4 separate regions of the Homo sapiens genome follow, and all the other regions are linked to region 1. The links are contacts of gene promoters, found by promoter capture Hi-C in blood cells and fetal thymus (Javierre and others, 2016). All regions are on one chromosome and are shown on one strand. The core of a region is centred on a gene start or on the middle of the fragment in contact, and the rest is flanking DNA. Distances in the headings are between cores, read along the strand shown.

Region 1 (3,241 bases), core at 273-2,772:
AAAGGGCAGAGCCATACACGCCACACATGGTGCCCACAGCCAGCGTGGCAGCTGCAGGGACGCGCACACGGCTGCAGGAGTCATAGCTCTGCTCGGCAAAGCTATGCTGGTAGAAGGCCTCATAGGCCACCACAGCTGGGAGTTGTCCAGCCCCTAGCTGGGCCACGCGGGTCACATTGATGAAGAGGCTCTGATTGGGGCTGCACGTGTTGTGGCAGTGCAGGTTCACAAAATTGTCAGAGCAGGCTGGGCAGCGGGTGAGGAGGGCCTTGGTGATCGACAGACTCGCTTCCAGTGATACCAGCTGCTTGGCGGAGCAGCAGGCTTGGGTGTTGGGGCCGGTGTAGAGGCGGGGGCAGATCTTCTGTAATAGGATCAGGTGATCACCTGTGATCTTGCGGGCCGGCGTGTTGGACAGGCAGGACACGTTGGAGAGTGTCATGAGGCTTCCAGACAGCTCTGGGTTCTTCCCACATTCGTCATAGAAGGCGCAGTAGCCAGGCTGGTGGATGGTTGTGTAAGGCTCACTCTGGGCCTGCAGAGCACAGCAACATCACGCGTGGGCCCTGACACAGCTGGGTGCCATCCAGGCAGCAGGCAGCCAGGGAGGGTGTGAGGGTAAGAAGGACATGGAGCAGGGGCAGGGAAGCGGGGAGTGTGGGGAGTAGGAAGCCTCCTGGAGGCATGTGCCAGCCAGCCAGTGTTGGAGTGACAACACTGGCCTTTCTTCCTGGGGGTGGCCTGATAGACCTGCAGCTTAGGAAAGTCATGCTGGAGAGGCCAGAGATGGGTAAGGAGGCAAAGCTGACTCCAAGGTCCCGGGCTCTGCCCACGTCAAAGTCAGCCTGAGTCCCCACACTGTACACCACATCCAGAGGCCAGGGTCTCTCATGGAGAGTCTGTTCAGGAGGCCCCCCGACTCCCACCACCACTACCACCACCTGCTTGAGGCCAAAAGCTGTCACCCACCTCCCAGACACAAAGTAAGCGAGGAACTTAAGAGGTGCCAGCGCTGGATCTTCTCCCAGCCTCCAGAGTGCTCAGTCCTCCCTAGGTGATGCTCACCAGGTAACCCCATCCCAGCACCTCCTTGCCTCAGACCTCCCTCAACTGCAGGCCTGGACCCCACAGTAGGGCCAGTGACAGGAGGGACTTGGAGCACCCCAGTCCAGCAGCCTCTTTCACCCCTGTGTGCATTCAAGCCTGTAACCTGGAAACCCTCCACCTGCACCCCTCCTCTGTGGGGCCTGGCATCCCTCATGTGTCCAGAGACTTGCCCAGCCCGCAGGCCCTGAGGCTCCCTTGCTGTCACCCAGTAACGCTCGCCTGGTACACGGCTGGCCCCAGGGTCCCTAACTGGAGGCCGCAGGGGAGGTGGAGCCAAGCCCTGGGACTCACCAAGCGCAGGAGCAGGGCCCACAGCAGCCAGCCCCTCAGGCCGGCCTCCGCCATCCCAGGTCTGGGAAGGGGTCAGCGGGGAGCCAGGCCAGGCCTCAGGAACAGCCAAGGGCTGAACACACATTAAGGCAGCCTCCTCCCCTTCGATGACAACCCTGGCCTGACTGGGTTAGGGACCAATGAGGCTGAGCCCTGCTGGTTAATGATCCACCACTCCCACTGTTTGGCCCCAGTCCACAGGCCCCCGCTTTAGATGAGCCTCATCACGCAGGTGCTAGGGTCTCCACTCACTTCCCAAAGCGACCGAAGCCAGAGGGCTGAGTCAGCTAGGGGAGAGACCACGCTATTAGCCCCTAACACTGCTGGAGTTGGTGCCAGGGCCTGGAGGCACAGATGGGACCAGGCACTGGCTGGGACCCGGCCTCAGGAGCTCAGCATGGCCGAGGAACCTCCGCACCCTCCCTGGCTCAGCCTCAGACCCCAGCTCTGCCCTACCCCCTCTTGGGACCAGGGCCAGCAATGGGCTCAGAGGAACCCTCTGCACTGTCATCCCTAGCAACTGTTGTTAATTAATATTAACAGCCTGATAACGGAGGGGCAGGCAGGGTGGAGTGACGCAGTGACAAAAGTCCCCTCCTCCAGGAAGCAAAGGGAAAGAACAGCTCACTCTAGGGCCTGACAGTTGACAGAGACCCCAGATAGTGGAAGACTCTCCTTTGCTCACTTTGCTCTTCATCCCCTCTTCCCCCCGACCTTCTCCCTCTTGTCCCTTGCCCAGGCCTGTCCCACCGGTCACCCCTAGCAAGGGACAGAGCATGGCTGGGAGCCTTGAGCAGCAGCCCTGCTCCACCTGGGCCCAGGGGTGTGGTACACACTTTCTGCTCCCTCCTGATAGGAATCTTCAAGGCCTACCTTGGGTTCTCACTATCACCAGGATGGGCCATGACCTTTACCCCCATTTGGTAATGGGCCCCCATTACCAAAGCTGAGCTGCAGATAAGGGCAGCTTGTTGGGAACATCTCCTGCGTGGCCACCTACTGGAGACAGCTGCAGGAAGGGACCTGTCTCTAGTGTTCTGTGGACCCCTGCCTGATTCACAGGGGAGCCACCCAGCCTCATGCAGGAGAAGACAGAGGCTGAGAGGAAGGGGGCCAAGGCAGGGTCAGGCTGACCCCTAAGTTCTCAAGACAGCCATAGTGGAGAGGAAGACAGTCAGCAGCCAAGGACCTGCCCCTGTGAGTGACAGCTCCATCCAGCACCTTCCCAGCACTGCTCCCAAGTCCCTGGCCGGCAGAGGCGGACACCCCACCACCCATGAAGCTGCCTCTCTAGGTCCTCTGTTCCCGGTGTTGTCATCTAGTTCCTCCAGAAACAGATCCTGAAACAAGGATCCCAGTGCAAAGAGTTTATTGGGGAGATGACCCCAGATGACAGCAGTCGGTGAATGGGGAATGAGCCAGGGGATGGAAGAAAGCTGACCAGAATGCATCCAAGAGCTTGCTCCTGCCCCCAGGGACCTCCGGGAACTGGTGGGGACGTGCCCAAGAAGGTCCCCTCCAAGGAATAAGGACACAGACAGCTTTCCACCACATTCATCTGTCACTGGTAGAGGACATTCCTGGAAGATTTCGCCCCAGCACGTGGCGGGCACCTTCAGTGTCAAAGGGCCTTAGGCAGGGCCGTGGGCACTTGCGACAAGAAGACACTGTCGGCATGCACAGAGCTGTGTCAGAACAAAGATATGAAAGGCCCACCCTGCCTTTCATATGTTTCTTCCCATGGGGGCTGTCTAGGCTAAGCCCCTGGAGCCCAGCTGTGCCCAGTCTAGCACCACAGAGAGAT
Region 2 (3,216 bases), core at 285-2,784, 290 kb before region 1:
CCTGCTAGGCCACCCAGTGATGCCCCCACCCTGGCTCTTTTGCAGTTCCCTGGGATGACATCAACTGCCCTCTGCTCTCTACCACCCTCCCCAGTGGGGTGAGAGCAACCCCACTACTCTGCTGCTTCCTGGGCTGTCACGATCAAGATGGTGGATTTCTGTCCAGGAGAAAAGGACATCCTGTCCCCCTCAACAGGAGGTTGAGACAGCAAGAATTCTGTTTGTCCCCCAAATTGGGGAGGAGGTACCACTGACCTCTACTTCTATGCCTTGGCTCCAGAGTTAACCAGATAAATCATGGGGTCTGGTAACACAATGTCTGTGGCCCCTCACAGGAGAGCCACTGAGTCCTAGCACCAACCCACGTGGCCCCGAGGGGAGCACCTGGGGGCCCCCTCCTCCCAGAGGCGCCTGAGTGAGGCTGACTCAGGTGAGACAAAGCAGGACATGCTTGGGATGCAGAGATGAGAGGGAACAGGGGGTACGGTGGCGTGTAAAGGGTATAGGAGAGGGTCCCGGATCTGCTCTTGGTGTGACACTCTCCCCAGAGCAGCACAAAGATCATCGATGGCCTAAGGAAAGGTGTGACCCCCATTCAGCATGAAAACCAATGGGGAGGTTGGTCTTAAAAATGCCATCAGGGTGATGGCCCCAGGGTCTGCACTGCTTGCCTGTCTACAGAGAAGCAGCAGGCTGAACCAAGCCTTGGGGAAGGTGGGGTTGAAGAAGGAGGAAAGGAGATTGGAAGGAAGGAAAGGGAGGAAGGAAGGGAGAGAGGAAGGAGCAGAGAGACAGCTAAGCTTCTGAGAGGCCACCCTGTGCCCTGGGGGGTGACCAACCTTCTTCCGAACACAGCCTAGAACTGCTTTGCCCAGACCTGAGCTGGGGGCAGCAGAGACTTGAGGAAAGGGCTGGGAGGACTTGGCAGACCCTGGCGAGTCCTGCTCTCACCACTCTGCTCCCAGCGGCGTCAGCCCTGTCACCTGTGTCCTCATCTGCCACAGTGGAGTCTTGGTGGGGGCTCACAGTTAGACCCTGAGTGGACATTTGTTACTAGCTGATTTCTCTATTGCCCAGGCTGGAGTGCGGTGTAATAGGCTGATTTCTGAAGACTAACCCCTCCCAGCCCTGGAGGTCCGGAGGGGTAGGGAGGGCCATGTGCAGACACCCCTCCAACACACAAGTGCACACACATGCACATGTACACACATGCCCACACAGACACACACACACATGCATACACGCACACATGTACCCACATGTACACATTCACATATGCATGCGCATGAACATGCCCACACATGTACACACTTGTACACACTTGCATACTCATGCATGCACAGTCCCCACACACGTGCATGCACACATGCCATATGTATACACACATGCACACAGGCACACAGACACGCCACCACTCATGCAGACATATGCACTCACACCTCTAAGTGTGCACATACATGCACATCCCTGCACAGGTGCAAGATGCACACACAAGCATGTATACACACATGTGCACACACACTCACACAATGCCTCCACCCAGGCATGCACATATGTACACACGAACCTCCATGTACACACGTATGCACATGCACACACATACTTCTATGCACATGACACATGCACATTTACATACAGGTGCACACACATAAGCATGCACACATGCCTCCACACATGCACGCACATATGCACACCATCCACACAGGACATGCACACACATACACATGCACATGCATGCACACACTCCTCCATGCATGCACACAAGGACACACACACACATACACCTCACCCCTCCAAGCTCCACAGTGCCACACACTGTCCAGCCCCTCACACTTCCTTGTACACAGCATGCAGGTACAGACAACAGACACCTGGCACAGAGTGGGGTGGGGACTCACCTTGAGGTCTCTGTGGACGACCCCCATTTGGTGACAATGGAGAACGGCCTCCAGGATCTGCTGGATACAGTGACTGTGGCAAACAGCAGGTGGGTTAGTGCGAGTGGCCCTGGGGAGCAGCAAGAGGAGGCACTGGGGGCAGGGGCAATGGTGCTGTGTGGCCTGGGGGGACCAGGGGGACAAAGCAAGTCAAGGTGAGAGGAGATGCTGGCCAGGAGGGGCCTCTGGGGCTTCTTCCTCACCTCCAAGGCCAGCAACTCTGGCCCTGGCCCTGCCTTCCCCTCTGGGCCCATATCTGTTCAGAGGGCATGGCTAGGCACACAGAAGTGACTTTCAAAGGAAACACCCCTGTCCCCAGGCTCCTGTTGGCCAAGCTTGACCCTAAGCTGGGCACCCTCAGGAGGGAGGCCAGGCTGAGTCTGTACCCTGTAAGGCAGGCTGAGGTGAGCAGGCCGGGCGAGCGGGCTAGAAAACCAAGGCAGGGAAGGGTCAAGGCGGCTGGGGGTGGGGGCAGGGGGCTGCCCTGGTGTGTGAGAAAGCCCCAGGCACCAGGACCCTGCTCTGTGCTGGAGCAGAAATAATGTGCTCGGGCACATGTTATTTCATTTTAATAAAAAGTGAAACCTGCCTGGGCGCGGTGGTTCATACCTGTAATCCCAGCACTTTGGGAGGCCAAGGTGGGCGGATCACCTGAGGTCAGGAGTTCAAGACCAGCCTGGCCAACATGGCGAAACCCCGTCTCTACTAAAAATACAAAAATTAGCTGGGTGTGGTGGTGGGCGGCTGTAATCCCAGCTACTCAGGAGGCTAAGGAAGGGAGAATTGCTTGAACCCAGGAGGTGGAGGTTGCAGTGAGCCAAGATGGCACCACTGCACTCCAGCCTGGGTGACAGAGGGAGAGTCCATCTCAAAAAGAAAAAAATAAAAAGTGAAACCCAAGCTGCCACATTGGCTGGTGGCTGCCGTGTTGGGTGGCTCAGTTCCAGCAGCACTAGGGGCATCTAGTTCAGCTCCCAGGGATCTGAGGGGCTGGGCAGGGGGCTGTGTGTGCACAGCACTGAGCACACGGAGCTTCCCCTTCAACCCTTCCTCTCATAGTCAGGGAGGGCTGTTGGCAGAAGTCCAGGGCCCTTCCAGGCCATGACTGGCTGGGAGGAGAGGTCCAAGCTGCTCTCAGGCCACCTCCCTGACACCTGTCCTAGAGCACATCAGACCCAGGGCCACGGAGCCCCTGCACACACCGAGAGCCCGTGGCTTGAATCTGCTTCTGCCCAGGTGCCCCTGGAGCCCAACACAAGCCCTTCCCCAGGGACAGCTC
Region 3 (3,204 bases), core at 404-2,903, 330 kb before region 1:
AAATCTCCTGATTTGTAACTGTTGCTTCAACTCTTTTTTTTTAAATTTTTGCATACAAGTGGAATGTAAGCAGCTATCTGTTTTTCTCAGGTTTTTCTCTTACAGCCTTTGCCTCTAAGTGGTCCCCTTGCCTCCTGCTCACCTCCAGTCTGTCCACCAGAGAGTAGTCATTGATCTGCACAACTTAGAACCCTTCAGCAGCTCTCAGATCCGCCCCAGGATAAAGTGCAAACTAACTCACAGTCTCCTGACTGGGCCCTGTTCTCTCTTATACCCTTTCTTGCCCAGCTCACACACAGGCGCCTGAAGGTTGGGCCTTTCTGACCAGATGTCACAGTTTTGTCACTGCTTGTTTACATGTCTCCCTGACCAGCGTATGAGCACTGGGACATCTTTCCATCCTGCTCATGATACAGTGCCTAGTTTATACCATGCTCAGCAGTTGATAGATACCTGGAGTGGATTGAAACCCACATACAAAGCTTTACCATTTACACAGGCATAGCTTTAGTGTGTACATCAGCGTCTCCTGGGGTTGGAGTTGTTGGCCTGCGATGGAGCCTGGGAACCTGCATTTTATAAAAAGCATCCCAGGGGCTTCAAACACAGGTGTGCTGACTGCACTCCAAATAACGTGGCTTTGGAATGAACGATAGATGTGAAAGTCTCATGGTATCTGTGTCTTTTGAAACCTTGTGAGCTTTCTTACCACCTAGGTGGCATTTCTCCGTTTTCTCCTCAAGCCATCTCTTTCTGTTGCTCAAGTCCTAGTCTGAGTACCATGACACCTGGGACACCCGCTGTTTCTCCTCTCCCCACGGTGGGGAGTGGATGAGTCCTATTCACCCAGCCTCATCTAGCTGCAGTTGTAAAATCTAGATGATTGGTGTGCATATCTGAATCAGTTAACTTTCTGTGTTAAAAATTTGAGTCGCTCAGCTGTGTGTAGGGATGAAGGACATTCTTGCTGGCTCCTTGTTCTATGGCGCTTCATGTGTGCATCTAGCTGCTGCAGCAGTGGCCATCTGAGGAGAGAAGCGAGCTGCTGCTTCCTGAGGGCCCTGGCAGCAGAGCTGCTGGCTCTTGTGAGGTCTCCATCTCTAGACCCCTTCCCATGGGGTCAGTGTTTTCATTTCCTAAGTCAGAGTTTGTAGTGATGACATTTAGGACATAGCCCATTTAGAAGGCAGGACATGTTCTGTCATAGTGCTGTCTGGTATATATTTGGGGCATGTGTGTAACTTAGAATTTTCTAGGAGCCATATTTTAAAATGATAAAAGGAAAATAGGTAGAATTTAATTTAATTATATATTTTACTTAACGCAGTATATCCAAATACAATTTTTCCAACATGTAATCGGTATAAAACTTGTTTTTTTTTCAGTATAAAACTTACTAATGAAGCATGTGTGAGTTTGCATCTGAAATCTGGTGTGTCTGTACTCAGAGCGCTGCTCAGTTTGGACTTGCCTCACATCAAGTGCTCAATAGCCATTTCCCACCGCCTTTTGTTTCCTGTGGCTGCTGTCAACAGAAACCCTCAAATATTTGCTTTTAACAGATAGCTCTGTGGGCCTGGCTGGTGTCTTTTGGGGCTCTGAGTGTCTGTCCCAGGCCTCTCTCCAGCCTCTGGTGGCTGCTGGCCATCCTTGGCATTCCTTGGATTAGAGGTGCATCACTTCAGGCTCTGCCTCTGCCGTCACGTGACCTTCTGTGTGTGTGTTTCCGTTTCTTACCAGGACATCAGTCATGGAATTAGATGCCACCCTAATCCAGTATTACCTCTTCCTAACTAGTTACATCTGCCAAGACCCTATTTCTAAATATGGTCACATTCAGAGATTCTGGGGATGTTAATTTCTGGGATGCGGTTGGGGTTGGGGGGTGCGGTGTGGGTCACTCTCCAACCCAGTACAATCATATAGTGCCCAGCTACTCTTTTTTCCAAAGCTCCATGCACACGCACATGTGCGTGCACACACACACACACACACAAATGTATATATAAATGTGTGTGTATATATATATATGAGTTTTCCTGGAGTGCTGGTTATCTAAGCCTGTGCTGGGGACAGCTTTTTGGGAAGTCTGCTACATCCCAGTTAGATCTTCTAGATTTCACGGGAATGTCACCAGGTTCTGTTCCATCCACTTGGACAGTAACTATTCTTGGACCGAGTCTCGACACCTAGAGGTGAAGTTTGTGTGTGTTGGAGAGGAACCCAGGTAAGGCACTTTCCCCCATGACTGAAATATGAGGGGCTCATGTCAGGGCACGTACTGAACAGAGCTGGATTCTCTTTTCTTTTTTGTCCAGCACAACACCATGGAGTCTCTGTTAGAGCGAGGTGAGAAGCTAGATGACTTGGTGTCCAAATCCGAGGTGCTGGGAACACAGTCTAAAGCCTTCTATAAAACTGTGAGTACCCAGCACCTGCTGCCTCCTGGGTGTTCTCTCTAGAGAGCAGTCGCAGCTTGCTGCTTCTGGCACTCTCCACTATGAACGGGTCTTTCTTAGACTGTTGAATCATGGTGGATGATTCCTTGTGCGGCAAGAGCCTAAGGTGAGCGCCTCAGGCCCAGGTGGTTGGAGGCAGTTCACTTGGGCGCCGTTGGAGTCGATGCGGGCCGAGGCCTTGTTCCACTCCTGCCTCTGCTCTGCCCTCTGCTGCTCTGGCTGATTTCTGAACTCCTACTCCCAGTCCAGGAAGGCTGGTTCAAGTTCTGATCACCAGAGATTTACTGTTGAATCTTATTCCTCTTTCTGCTGAGTAGACATAAGTCTTTAAGATGCAAGCAATTCAGCCTTCCTGAAGAGGTTCTTAAGCTTTTAATTTCCCTTTGACAGAAAATATTTAATTGACAAGGATGGGTGCTGCTGACTGCCGCTTTCTCTCAGGTCAGTGCTCATGTCTTCCTATGTGGAGATGGCACTGTTGGCCCATGGTTGGATAGTCATAGGGACAAATTTACTTGGTCTGTCCACACACATTTGCTTTCATGTGCACATTGGAGGGAGATGGCTAGGTGGGATTAGGAAGATAGTCTGTGACCAGAAAGCAAGAGAGAAGGTGGCAACAGTGGTCCCCACAAACCACATCCCAAGTGGGAACCACATCTGTTGTCCTCAGGACCATCTTCTAGGAAGAAACACCACCGTGGTGGTCAGATAGCATTGTGTGAAGACAGGAGTGGGGCAAAGT
Region 4 (3,141 bases), core at 629-3,128, 310 kb before region 1:
AAAATCAGATGAGCTGCTGTAGAAGTGGCAGGTGTCGGGGGTTCTGACCACTCCCAGAGGCTCTGCGGTGCACCCACCCCAGCTGCACGGCGGCCCCTCCCCATGCCTCCCTCCTTGAGTTCTGGTCGCCCAGGCACCCCGACCCTATCAGCATCAAGAACCTGGCCTCTCCCCTCAGCTGCTTGCCTCTGATCCCCTCAGTCAACCCCTGCTGGGGGTCCTCAGCCGACCACAGAAGCTCTGGGGGTGAGTACCCCTCCAGGGGCTGCCCCCTGCTCTCTCGGGCACCCAGGGTGGATCCAGTGCCCCTTTGAGCCTGCAGCCTGCATCCCCCTCCTCGAGCCGCTGCTCCTGTGGGTTCACTCTCCCCACACCCTTCTGCCCTGGCCGCCTGCAGCAGCCCCCAGGCCCAGCCTGCAGAGGGGACGGTGGCAAGCAGACCCCACCTGTCCCTCAAGTACTTACCTAGCCACTGCCCTGCCATGCCGAGCCCGTGGCCCAGCAGCCTCTTCTCTAAGAGTATCTCCACACCACCCCCAGTCTGGTGTCTCCCCACAGGTGGGGGTGGCAGCAGCCCTGGGATGTCATCCATCCCTGTAAGTGATACTGCGGGTAGTCGGCAGACAGACCGGGAGGTGGCCCAGCCTGGCTCCTCCCTGGCCGGGGAGGCTGCCCAGCCTGTGCTTCCTGTCCCGCCCGCTCTGTTTCAGCCTGGCCCCAGCTGCCCCCCAGATCCGCGCCTCCCGATCCCCACCTGCTCCCTGCTGTCTGGACTTGGACAGCTCTAATGCTAGAGCGTCTCAGGCCGGGACTGACACTTTTCTGTCCCGGCCCAGCAGGTCCACCTTGACCCAAGCCAGCAGCTCCTGGCGTGCTAGCCCTTGCCACACGCGCAGACCCTTTGCCACCCATTCCCCTCCCATCAGGAGAAAGCTGTGGACCTCAGGGTTGCGAATGCTGGGGTCGGCAACAAACCTGCTCTTTCGGACGCTCTTCCTATACACATATGTCATACACACTTCATAACCATAACCTCCATTTTCTGAGACCCAGTGGCACCTTCATGTGCTTCAAAGCAATTCCCTGGGACCCAGCAGAGGGATCCTGTGCCCCGCCCTCCTCCGCAAGAATGGCCCTTCCCAGAGCACCACTGCCAGGCTCGCACGCCCCGAGCCCCTCCGGGCAGCCGCTGCCACGGCCACTCAAGGTGCTACTTACATGGGGTGGGCAGGGGGCCAGGGATAGTCGGAGATGGGCAGGGCGGGGGCCCCACTGGCGAGGGGCCCTCGGCTTCTGGGGTCCCTGAGCCCCTCCTCACAGAGTTCAGGATGTCAGAGATCCTGGGGGCTGGGGCGGAACAGACGAGACGTGAACACAAGGCAGGCACGGGGGGCACGCAGGAGAGAAACCATGGGCAGACAGCCAAGCCAGAGATTGAGGGGCACAGAGGCAGATGTGGGGGATGGGGCACAAGGGGACAGAGGGGAGGAAGGGAGAATGGGGGGGTGTGGGGGGAAGATGGTGGACCTGGGCCGACAGAGGGGATATAGGGGAAAGAAGGGGATGTGGGGGATGGAGGGGAGCTTGGGGGACAGAGAGGGAAACGGGAAATGGAGGAGACGTGGGAGACAGAAGGGAACGTGGGGGACAGAGGGGCATGTGGGGGGACAAAGTGGGGGTGTAGGGGATGGGGGGCATGAGGGGACCAAGGTGGGTGTGGGGGACAGAGGGGGGTGTGGAAGACAGAGGGGGTGTGGGGGACAGAAGGGGTCATGGGGGATGGGGGTGCGTGAGGGGACCAAGGTGGATGTGGGGGACAGAGGGAGTGTGGAGGACAGAGGGGGATGTGGGGGACAGAGAGAGGTGCAGGGGACAGAGGAGGGTGCAGGGGACAGAGGAGGGTGCAGGGGACAGAGGGGGATGTGGGGGACAGAGGGGAAGTGGAAGACAGAGGGGGTGTGGGGGACAGAAGGCGGTGTGGGGAACAGAGGGGGAGGTGGGGGACAGAGGAGAGTATGGGGGACAGAGGGGGTGTGGGGGACAGAAGGGGGTGTGGAAGACAGGAGGTGTGGGGGACAGACGGAGTGTGGGGGACAGAGGGAGAGTCTGGGGGACAGAGGGGGTGTGGGGGACAGGAGGGGGTGTGGAAGACAGAGGAAGTGTGGGGGACAGAAGGGGGTATGGGGGGCAGGGGGTGGAGGACAGAGGAGGGTGTGGGGGACAGAGGGGGATATGGGGGACAGAGGGAGTGTAGGGGACAGAGGAGGGTCTGGGGGGCAGAGGGAGAGTGTGGGGGACAGGGGGTGTGGGGGACAGAGGGAGTGTGGGGGACAGAGGAGGGTCTGGAGGACAGAGGGAGAGTGTAGGGAACAGAGGGGGTGTGGGGGACAGAAAAGGGCGTGAAGGGACCAAGGTGGGTGTGGGGGACAGAGGGGTATATGGGGGACAGAGGAGGGTGTGGGGGACAGAGGGAGAGTCTGGGGGACAGAGGAGGGTGTGGGGGACAGAGGGAGAATGTGAGGGGCAGAGCAGAGTTTGGGGAGGAAAATGGAAATGAGGGAAAGAGGGGAATTTGGGGGACAGAGGGGGATGTAGGGATAGAGCGTGGACTTAGGGGGACGTGGAGAGGTTGTAGGCTGACCGAGGGGGATATGGGGGGACGGAGGGAGACAGGGGGACAGAGGGTGCTGCTGCGGACAGCGTGGTGCGTGGAGAGGAGGCTGCAGGAGTGAAGGGCAGATGCTCTGGCTGTCGGGTGGCGTGGGCTGAAGCTGCTGGGGGCAGAGGGCACCCTCCAGGGAGAGGCTGCTGGCCAGCAAGAAGCTGTCAGGTAAGTGGCCCTTGAGGAACGCTGGACGGGGTTACAGGGAGAGGAGGGAGTCACGGGCGTTACAGAGGAGGCCTGGCCTGGCCCCATGAGGACAGCCCAGGTCAGCAGAGGCCAGGCTTATGATTCTCCGTACTATCCCCTTGTTGGTGAGCTCCAGAGACCCTGGTCGGGGTTCCAGTTTTGGCACCTTCCTCAGCCTCCTAGACTGAGGGAGGGTGCTCAGGGGTTGGGGCCACATCAGGAACCAGGGTGGCCCTGAGTGCAGCTCCTGGGCACCATGGGCAGGGCCCCTGGGTGGGTGTGAAGTCTGT

The links. Contacts are between HindIII fragments. The CHiCAGO score rates a contact against its expected background, and 5 or more counts as called.
Region 2: a fragment that was not itself captured here is called in contact with the fragment with the promoter of NPC1L1 in region 1 in 5 of 17 cell types (M0 macrophages, endothelial precursors, M1 macrophages and 2 more); the score reaches 10.8 in M0 macrophages.
Region 3: a fragment that was not itself captured here is called in contact with the fragment with the promoter of NPC1L1 in region 1 in 8 of 17 cell types (M0 macrophages, endothelial precursors, M2 macrophages and 5 more); the score reaches 10.4 in M0 macrophages.
Region 4: a contact is called between a fragment that was not itself captured here and the fragment with the promoter of NPC1L1 in region 1, in 4 of 17 cell types (M1 macrophages, M0 macrophages, naive CD8 T cells and 1 more). The highest score is 8.1, in M1 macrophages.

What each region holds. Positions count from the first base shown.
Region 1 is chr7:44,539,808-44,543,048 of GRCh38, forward strand. NPC1L1 (NPC1 like intracellular cholesterol transporter 1) reads right to left here and starts at 1,523. Exons shown (of 19, transcript NM_001101648.2): 1 at 1,399-1,523; 2 at 1-535. The coding sequence starts at 1,452. RefSeq lists an enhancer at 195-816. The HindIII fragment of the contact is 6,836 bases long and covers 1-3,241 here.
Region 2 is chr7:44,245,222-44,248,437 of GRCh38, forward strand. CAMK2B (calcium/calmodulin dependent protein kinase II beta) reads right to left here. Exons shown (of 24, transcript NM_001220.5): 6 at 1,899-1,971. Among named protein-coding and RNA genes, the nearest start is that of YKT6, 46 kb to the left of the region's middle. The HindIII fragment of the contact is 1,472 bases long and covers 799-2,270 here.
Region 3 is chr7:44,208,705-44,211,908 of GRCh38, forward strand. It overlaps YKT6 (YKT6 vesicular SNARE protein), which reads left to right. Exons shown (of 7, transcript NM_006555.4): 6 at 2,319-2,420. Among named protein-coding and RNA genes, the nearest start is that of YKT6, 9.3 kb to the left of the region's middle. The HindIII fragment of the contact is 2,346 bases long and covers 481-2,826 here.
Region 4 is chr7:44,225,298-44,228,438 of GRCh38, forward strand. CAMK2B (calcium/calmodulin dependent protein kinase II beta) reads right to left here. Exons shown (of 24, transcript NM_001220.5): 20 at 1,219-1,347. Among named protein-coding and RNA genes, the nearest start is that of YKT6, 26 kb to the left of the region's middle. The HindIII fragment of the contact is 6,943 bases long and covers 1-3,141 here.